2 separate regions of the Homo sapiens genome follow, and region 2 is linked to region 1. Evidence: promoter capture Hi-C in human tissues and cell types (Jung and others, 2019). All regions are on one chromosome and are shown on one strand. The core of a region is centred on a gene start or on the middle of the fragment in contact, and the rest is flanking DNA. Distances in the headings are between cores, read along the strand shown.

Region 1 (4,293 bases), core at 1,441-3,940:
TGCTTGGCTAATTTTTGTATTTTTTGTAGAGACTGGGTTTCTCTATTTTAAAAAATAATTTGTTATTATTATTTTAAATCTTCATTTTAACAAATAATCTGGGATGTGCAGATAGACTATAAAGGTTTAAAGTTTTTTTTTTTTAATTTCATAAATTGTATACCATGTCAATTTTCATTTGATGTCAATTTTACGTGGATACTAAAAGGTCTAAAACTTAACAATCTTTAACACCAAACTGAAATCTCATTTGAACACCCTGAAAATTCAGAGGCTAAAAATTTCCCAAAACTGAAAGACAGTGAAGAGACCTATTAACCCAGAGTGTAGTGAGTCCAAGTAGCTCCAAGAAAGGCCCTGGAAAGATGTGCTGAGTTGACAATACAGGAAAAGCACCACTAGGAAAGAAACAGGAGCACTACCTTTCTATCACATTGTTAGGTAAATATTCACTTAGAGCAACTTCAGGCAGCAACGAGGGCAAATTAAGGAAAGCTGCGGTGGCATCCAGTTGTTTCAAGATTAAGGTAATTTAGCAGCCCTGTCTACTTGCCTTGAAAAAATACACAAACATTCCCAACAAAGCTAGGAGCAGTAGGAGAGCTATGATCTGTCGAGCGAAAACCTCCTGCCAAGTACTGGGATGGGTGCTAATAAAAACCTAGGAGCCGGTTCTTCTTGTTGACTGAAATCTGACAAATTAATGTTAATCCTTAACAAAATTTAACTCAAATGTGTCCTTTTCCCTATAATCAGTCACATGCTCTTCTTTCTTCCCACCCATCCTGCAAACACTTGGTATGCTGCTTGAGAGAAGTTTATCTTTAATGATTCTAGCTGGCCTGTAACATCACTATTTCAAGCTCAAAGCTTGGGTTCTAGTCACAGCCACTAACTACCTGTGTTATTATACACAACCACTTTACCTCTCTCGACATGAGTGTCCTCCTAATTGCTACAATAAGGAAATGGAAAAAAATACGATCACTAGCTCTAACACTACAGTAAATTGTACCAGAAATTTATAAACTTTATACTTCCTTAATACAGGTGTCAATGTGCATTTTTTTCCTTTTTGGGTTTATAGTATTTGTGAAATTTTCAAACAGGTCTGTATTATAAGAAAGGGTAAGAACCACTGATAAAATATTAAAATGATATCAGTAAAAATATTATTTCCTTTTTTAGAAGATAGCTCATGACAATGCACCTTTTAAATGAAGTGTAAATGCCTCGTCTAAAAAAAATTCACCACGCTGCTTTATGAAGTAAATGTAGTAAATTCAGTCAGGAAGGGCACTGGCAAATGAAATCCACGTTGCAGGAAACTGTAAACACTGCATTTGGTCCCAGAATACGGATTTTTCCCTTGATTTGTTCCCATGCCACTTTGGTTCTTCTCACTTTCAGATCCCCCTAACCAATGCTTAGCTGGCATCTCCACTTGGCTGCTTCACAGGCACCAAAAAGTTTTCTGCCTAAAACTGAATTCTCAATCCTTCTTTCCACATCTATTCCTTTCCCAATTTTCCTCACTCTGTAAAGTGGCATCATCATGAACACGGTTCATCAAACCAGACACTTTTCATCATTCTCGACATTTCCTTCTTATATTTACTCCACCACATCCAATCCACTTTCTATCAAATCCACCTCCAAATCTATCTCAACTCATCCCTCCCCTTTTCTCCCCAATTACACTGCCCCACACGAGTCAAAGCCATCATTTGCTGCTCCCTGGACCTCTACAATAGATCCTTAAATGGTCTCTTCGCCATTACACAGACCGCCCCAAATTCGGACAGAGTGGAAATCAGATCCTGTCATTACCCCGCTTTAAATCCCTGTATTGCCTTCCACTGAATTTGGAACAAAACCCCACCTTCTTACAGAGCCCACAGGGCCCTGGAGCACCAAAATGCTTGGTTCTTAGATCCTGCCAAGCTTTTTCCTGTCTCAGGGCCTCGATATGTATTCCACCTCAATGTTCTTCGACTCGTACATCCTTAAAGTAAGATTCCATTGACTGTGCCCACTTGTTTTGAAAAGGGAGTTTATTACACAGTTGTTTTAAACAAGTTCATAACCCTAGAACTTAGGTATAGAGTGACCGCTCTAATCTAAAGCAACAGAAGGGAAATGGGAGCAGGGCAGGTCTTCCAGCAGAACACCAGCTACCATTTCTGCAGGCCTCTCCATCGATTCACCCGGGGAGCCCTGACCACCGAGGCCGAGCGGCGGGCTCCTGTGCGCAGCTGCCCCGCAGCAGGCGCCCGCGGCCTATGGCGCCGCCCCATTTTTTCTAATACTTGGACTCGAACTAGTGGGGTCACTGTTAGGCGAAGAAAGGAATGACCTCCAAGGTCACATGCAAGCAAACTTTGGTCTCAACTAAACAGGAAATTGCACCGAAATCGCTGTCGCTAGCGCCTTACAAGTAAGGGTTTTCTCCTTAACCCAAACAAGCCTTTCGGGCTGGGTTTTTATCACGTCCGCTCCAAAACCGAGGAGGTTGAGTGAACTTCACCCCACGACCCCGACTCTCCGCGGCGGCCGGAAGCGGAGGCCTGGCCTGGGGAGGGCAGGACCCCGAGGGGCGAGGAGAGGAGGAGGGGGCTGCGCTCACCTCGGAGCAGAGCCATGGCGGCTGCTGGGTCGTCGGCGGCGCGGGTCTGTGGTGTGGGGGACGCTGAGCGGCCGCTCGCAATCACCCAGATTTCAAGAGCGTGGGTGGCGCCCCGAGAGCCACGCCCCTGCCCTTTCACCTACTTCCTGGGGCTCCTTGGCGGGGTCCCAGCGTAAGATGGTCCTACCCCACGCGTAGCGCTGCCCGCCTCACCCCAGCCCGAGGGAGCCCAGGGGACGGGGCTCGGATAGACCACAACGCGCCTTGAGAGCGGACTCTTTCCTCACATCCTCATTTTTAGATTTTCTCCGTTTCCAAACCGAGAGAATTTGGTTTGACACCTCTCACCCATCATATCCTAGCCCCGACAGGCGATGACTCTTCCCCTTTGTCTCCGCCAACACCCTAAACACTGGGCAGGAGCCAAGGGCTGAGGAACTTGGCGCGCGGGCGGCCGCGGCCGCCAGCTGGGGGCGGGACCGAACGTCCTGTGGGCGGGGCGCGGCGGCGGCGGCGGGATTGGCTGGGGCGGGCGGGTGCGCAGTCCGCTGGGCAGAGGCTTGGGCCGCCGAGCTGGACCCGGACCGGTTTTGGGTACTGTACTGGGGGCAGGGCAGAGAGGTGGGCGGCAGTTGGGGTGCGGTGATTGTAGTAGGCTAGGGCGCTTTCGGGTCCCCATTGCAGCCCCCGGATGAGCCCGCAGTATTTTCCTTATATGATCAGGTCCCATTGCGGGCGGCGCCGCTTGCCCGGAGCCTGAGAGGATTATGAAAACGTGGCGAGCGAAATGGGGCCAGGGGACCTGGAGCAGGGGCGTGAGGAGAGTAGGCAGCGGGTGAGGCTGGACGGGAGGGAGGTCTAGGGAGGCCTCTGCCGCGGGCACTGTGAGTCCTGGCCGATGATGACGAGACCACTGCGCAATCTGAGTTCTGGGAACCAGGTGATGGAGTATGTTCTGAGAACAGACTGAGGCCGGGCAAGCAGGAGGCGGCCGCGGCAGGGGAGAGGCGGAGAGCCCCTCGATACCAGGGCTCGGAGGGCCGGGCTGCCTAGCGAGGGCTTCTTTTGAGTGCGTAGGGGTGGTGGGTGGCATGGACGGTTTCTCTGAGTCGTCAGCGAATGCCCCCCCTAGAATCCTGCTTTTCAAACACTTTGGTGACACTCTTGCAATGTTGGGGTGTTTTTAAATCCAAATTTGTATTATGAAAACTTACAAACTTACAGAAAAGTGGGAAGACTTGTACAGTGGACACATATCGACCCAATTGTTAACATTTTGCTATATTGCTATCCACCTGTTCTTCCATCAAACCATCTTATCTTTTTAATGCAGACCTTAGTACTCTACACCCATGAACACATCAGCACACATTATTCATTTACAGTTCTTTTTAAGGCAAAATATCCACGCAATCAAATGTACAAATCTTAGACAAGCTTCACAAATGCTCATGTATAGGCCGGGCGCCGTGGCTCACGCCTGTAATCCCAGCACTTTGGGAGGCCGAGGTGGGCGGATCACGAGGTCAGGAGATCGAGACCATCCTGGCTAACACGGTGAAACCTCATCTCTACTAAAAATACAAAAAAATTAGCTGGGCGTGGTGGCGGGCGCCTGTAGTCCCAGCTGCTGGGGAGGCTGAGGCAGGAGAATGGTGTGAACCTGG
Region 2 (4,240 bases), core at 6-2,505, 1.2 Mb before region 1:
GAAACCTTGAGAAGACCTGAGGGAGTGGAGAGGAATGTTGCTCTTCAGCTGGTGAGGTCATTTTTTAGGATCTGAGAAGTGACAGTTGACACTCAGGGAGAAAATATCTCATGATGTTTGTACACTTGTGTTCCTCTCGTCCTTCCCAGTAACAACTAGAAAGAAATGAAGGATGGATGGATGGATGGATGGATGGATGGCTGGCTGGCTGGATGGATGGATAGACAGACAGATAGATAATACATAGATAATAGATAGATAAGATAGATAGATAGATCAGTTTTCCTGTCTCTTAGATGAATAACCAAGACAATGTGTGTTTTAAGTTTGCCAACATTTTCTGGATGCCATGTTTAACATCATACCTCTCCCCATGCTTGACACCACGCCCCTCCCCATGTTTGACACCACGCCCCTCCCCATGCTTGACACCACACCCCTCCCCATGCTTGACACCACGCCCCTCCCCATGCTTGACACCACGCCCCTCCCCCGTATTTTACATCGTACCCCTCCCCCATGTTTCAGGAGCACCTGCTGTCCAATAGATTGGAAGTCCCCACAGTCACTCTATCCTTGGGAGGAGGAGGGATTTTAGCCCTATTCTAAAGGAGGGAAACTGAGGCACAGAAATGGAGCATGGCCAAACCCCACTGCTGGGTGGTGGCTGAGCTGGGCTCTGGAGCCCCATCCCCACCCCACCTACTTCTGGTTTCCTGCTCCGTACAGGCCATGACTGATTGGGTGTTGGGTGGTTAATATAGATTTCTTTCCTATAGAAAGAAAATTAGGTCTCCAAATCTCATTGACCACTAATCTTTTGGGGAAGAGATTAGGATGTTGTAAGTGGGGAAAATTTTGGCACATGTGATGTTCGTGGATGATCTAGTGGATCACCAGAAAGCTTGGAAGCAGTATGCAACTCTGAGCGAGCATGAACTCACTTAGGGAGCTGTGAGAAATACTGATGTACAGGCCCCACTGCTAGAGATGCAGGCAAAGGTGAGGGGCCTGGGCCTGAACTATTCATAAGCCTGTGCATGACTCTGATTGCCACAGTGGGAGCAGGGCTGTCTCCTTTCTCCCCCTCCATGGCCTGCTGCCCCGATCCAGTCTCTTGGAAAGATAACATGTAGGAACCCTATGAAGATACATTTAATGACAGCATAGTTTCCAGTAAATTCTTGTTAAGGGGTCAAATTAAGAGCCAGTGAGAGTGAAGATCACTTCCTATAGCCCTATTTTGATGCTTTCCGGCACTTGGAAACCCTGGGTTTCATCTAAAATGCAGTGATCTTTACAAAGGGGTGCAGCAGTGGCAATGAATAGGATAGGGTGAGAGTGTTCAGATCGGCTCAATGGCTTTTCCTAACAAGTTTCTCCTCTTTCTCTTTACGTCTCTCCTTTCATTCTGCCTTCCCTGTTCACTGTTCCCTCGCCCTTTTTCTAAAATCCCATCTCTTCATTTCCTTCTGCCCTTAAATTCATTTTTCCTGATGTCTTTGCTCACAGGAGGAAGTACTCAATGGTGGACCACCCATGAAAGGCTTAACAGAAGAAGTGAGTTTATAGGAGGACTGCGGGGTGGTTCAGCATGGGGGATTTATTATATATTTTCCCCTTATTTAAAAAATGTATTCTAAATTATACAAGTACTTTATGCATACATTCCCATAGTGCACAAGAATTCAGATATTAATAATTAAATTCTCCTGAGCTAAAATTATTTTAAATTATACAAGTCCTTTATGCATACATTATCATGGTACATAAGAATTCAAATATTAACAATAAAATCTTCTGTGCTACCACCTCATTCTGCTCCCTTACTCCTACCTCCCATCAGATGAGTGAGTTCATTTCCTTGCCTTTTTTAATGCCTTTCCTGACATAGGTATGACTTGAAGAAATACAATATTGTCAAATCATATATCATAGCCAGTGGATATATTGTTCAATAACTTGCATTTTTCACCTGCCCACATGCCCCAGAGATTCTTCTGGGCTTGCACATCTGCTGTGTTCCGTTTAGTGGCTGCCCAGTTGTCCATAGCATGGATTTATTTAACCATTTGCTTAATGGTAGGCACTCAGGTTACTTCTAAATTTTCCCCTGGAAATACGTGATACTTCAACACATACTGTTGAACATGCCTCCTTCTGCACAAATAATGGAGTTTCTTTAGTTAGATGCTGAGAAGTAAAATTAATTTTAATAGCTGTTGTTAAAGTGCTCTCCAAAGATCTTCCATTATCCATACTGCCACCAGTGTATTGGGACATCTTGTCATTTTAATTCACATTGTCTTATTTCTTTTTCTTTCTTTTTTTTTTTTTTTTTTTGAGATGGAGTCTCACTCTGTCACCAAGGCTGTAGTGTAGTGGCGCGATCTCAGCTCACTGCAACCTCCCCCCACCGCAGGTTCAAGCAACTCTCCTGTCAGCCTCCCGAGTAGCTGGGACTACAGGCACATGTCACCACACCTGGCTAATTTTCGTATTTTTAGTAAAGATGGGGTTTCACCATATTGATCAGGTTGGTCTTGAACTCCTGACCCAGGTGATCCACCTGCCTCGGGCTCCTAAAGTGCTGGGATTACAGGCGTGAGCCACCGCGCCCGGCCACATTGTCTTTATTTCTAATGAAATTGAATTACCAATCTTTTTATTTTCTTTTTTTCTTTTTTTTTGAGATGAGTCTTGCACTATCGCCCGGGCTAGATTGCCATGGCATGCTCTCGGCTCACTGCAACCTCTGCCTCCCAGGTTCAAGTGATTCTCCTGCCTCAGCCTCCCAAATAGCTGGGATTACAGGCGTGTGCTACCACGCCTGGCTAATTTTTTGTATTTTTAGTAGAGACGGAGTTTCACTATGTTGGCCAGGCTGGTGTCGAATGCCTGACTTGTGATCCCCTCCCATGGCCTCCCAAAGTGCTGGGATTACAGTCATGAGCCACCGCACCTGGCCGTTTTTTTTTTGTTTTTTTTTTTTTTTTGAGACAAAGTTTTGCTCTTGTTGTCGAGGCTGGAGTGCAATGGTGTGATCTTGACTCACTGCAACCTCTGCCTCCCGGGTTCAAGCGATTCTCCTGCCTCAGCCTCCCGAGTAGCTGTGATTACAGGTGCCTGCCACCATGCCTGGCTAATTTTTTGTATTTTTAGTAAAGACAGGGTTTCACCATTTTGGCCAGACTTGTCTTGAACTCCTGACCTCAGGTGATCCACCCTGCTCGGCCTCCCAAAGTGTTGGGATTACAGGCGTGAGCCACTGTGCCTGGCCACCAATTACTTTTTAATAGGATAAAATTTTATTTTCTCAAAGTAACAATTGGAAAAACAGAGGCAAGTGAAAAATGGAAAAAAATCATTTTATGGCAACTAATATAATTTTTGTGCATCATTTTTTAAACATCTTTTACAAAGTTGTACTTCTAGCATACATGTAAGTTTTATGATCTGTAGGTTTTAATGATCTCCTAGACATTGTTTGGTGGTGGTTTTTAGCATAAAGTGTAACTATTTAAATTTGCTCTTTTTCTGCTAGGTGGTAAAATATAATAGAATGAAAGCTAACATTTATTCATTCAGGCTCTTTTGTAGGCTCAGGGGGCAAAGTCAAGAACAAAACAACCATGATCTCTGTCTCAGTTTCTCACAGGGAAAGACAGACAATAGAGGGAGAAGGAAATGGGATGTTAGAAGGTGATGAATGCATGAGGGAGGCAGGAAGTGAGTGGGGAAGGCTCGCTTAGGAGTGAGGATTTGGGCAAGGTGACTCACGCCTGTAATCCCAGCACTTTAGAAATCTGAGACAGGTGGATCACTTGAGCCCAGGAGTTCGAGGCCAGCCTGGGCAACATGGTGAAACTCAGTCTCTACTATAAATACAAAAATTAGCTGGGCATGATGGTGCATGCCTGTGATCCCAGCTACTGGGGAGGCTGAGGTGGGAGGATCACCTGAGCCCAGGACCCAGAGGTTGCAGTGAGCTGAGATCACACCCCTTCACTCCAGCCTGGGCAAGAGAGTGAGACCCTGTCTCAAAACAAACAAACAAAAAACAGAAAGAAAGAAAAAGAAAGAAGACAGGGTTGGGGGGGAGGGTGGGGAGGAAGGAAGGGAGGGAGGGAGGGAGTGAGGATTTGAAGGAGGTGAGAGTGAGGCCACCTGGGAAAGGGTATCCAGGCAGAGGGAGTGGCCAGGGCAAAACTCTGGTGTGGGGCATACCACACAGTCAAAC

Evidence for each region. The method cuts DNA at HindIII sites, captures the fragments that hold promoters and counts their contacts. A contact is called where the count stands out against the background at its distance.
Region 2: a contact is called between a fragment that was not itself captured here and the fragment with the promoter of ACAA2 in region 1, in 1 of the 25 tissues and cell types used here (dorsolateral prefrontal cortex).

The regions. Positions count from the first base shown.
Region 1 is chr18:49,810,843-49,815,135 of GRCh38, forward strand. ACAA2 (acetyl-CoA acyltransferase 2) reads right to left here and starts at 2,691. Exons shown (of 10, transcript NM_006111.3): 1 at 2,627-2,691. The coding sequence starts at 2,642. SNHG22 (small nucleolar RNA host gene 22) reads left to right here and starts at 3,181. Exons shown (of 4, transcript NR_117096.1): 1 at 3,181-3,220. It also overlaps SCARNA17. RefSeq lists silencers at 2,484-2,603, 2,497-2,791, 3,034-3,203. The HindIII fragment of the contact is 6,306 bases long and covers 1,408-4,293 here.
Region 2 is chr18:48,623,677-48,627,916 of GRCh38, forward strand. The region is part of intron 2 of CTIF (cap binding complex dependent translation initiation factor); the gene reads left to right. Among named protein-coding and RNA genes, the nearest start is that of MIR4743, 45 kb to the right of the region's middle. The HindIII fragment of the contact is 3,233 bases long and covers 1-2,872 here.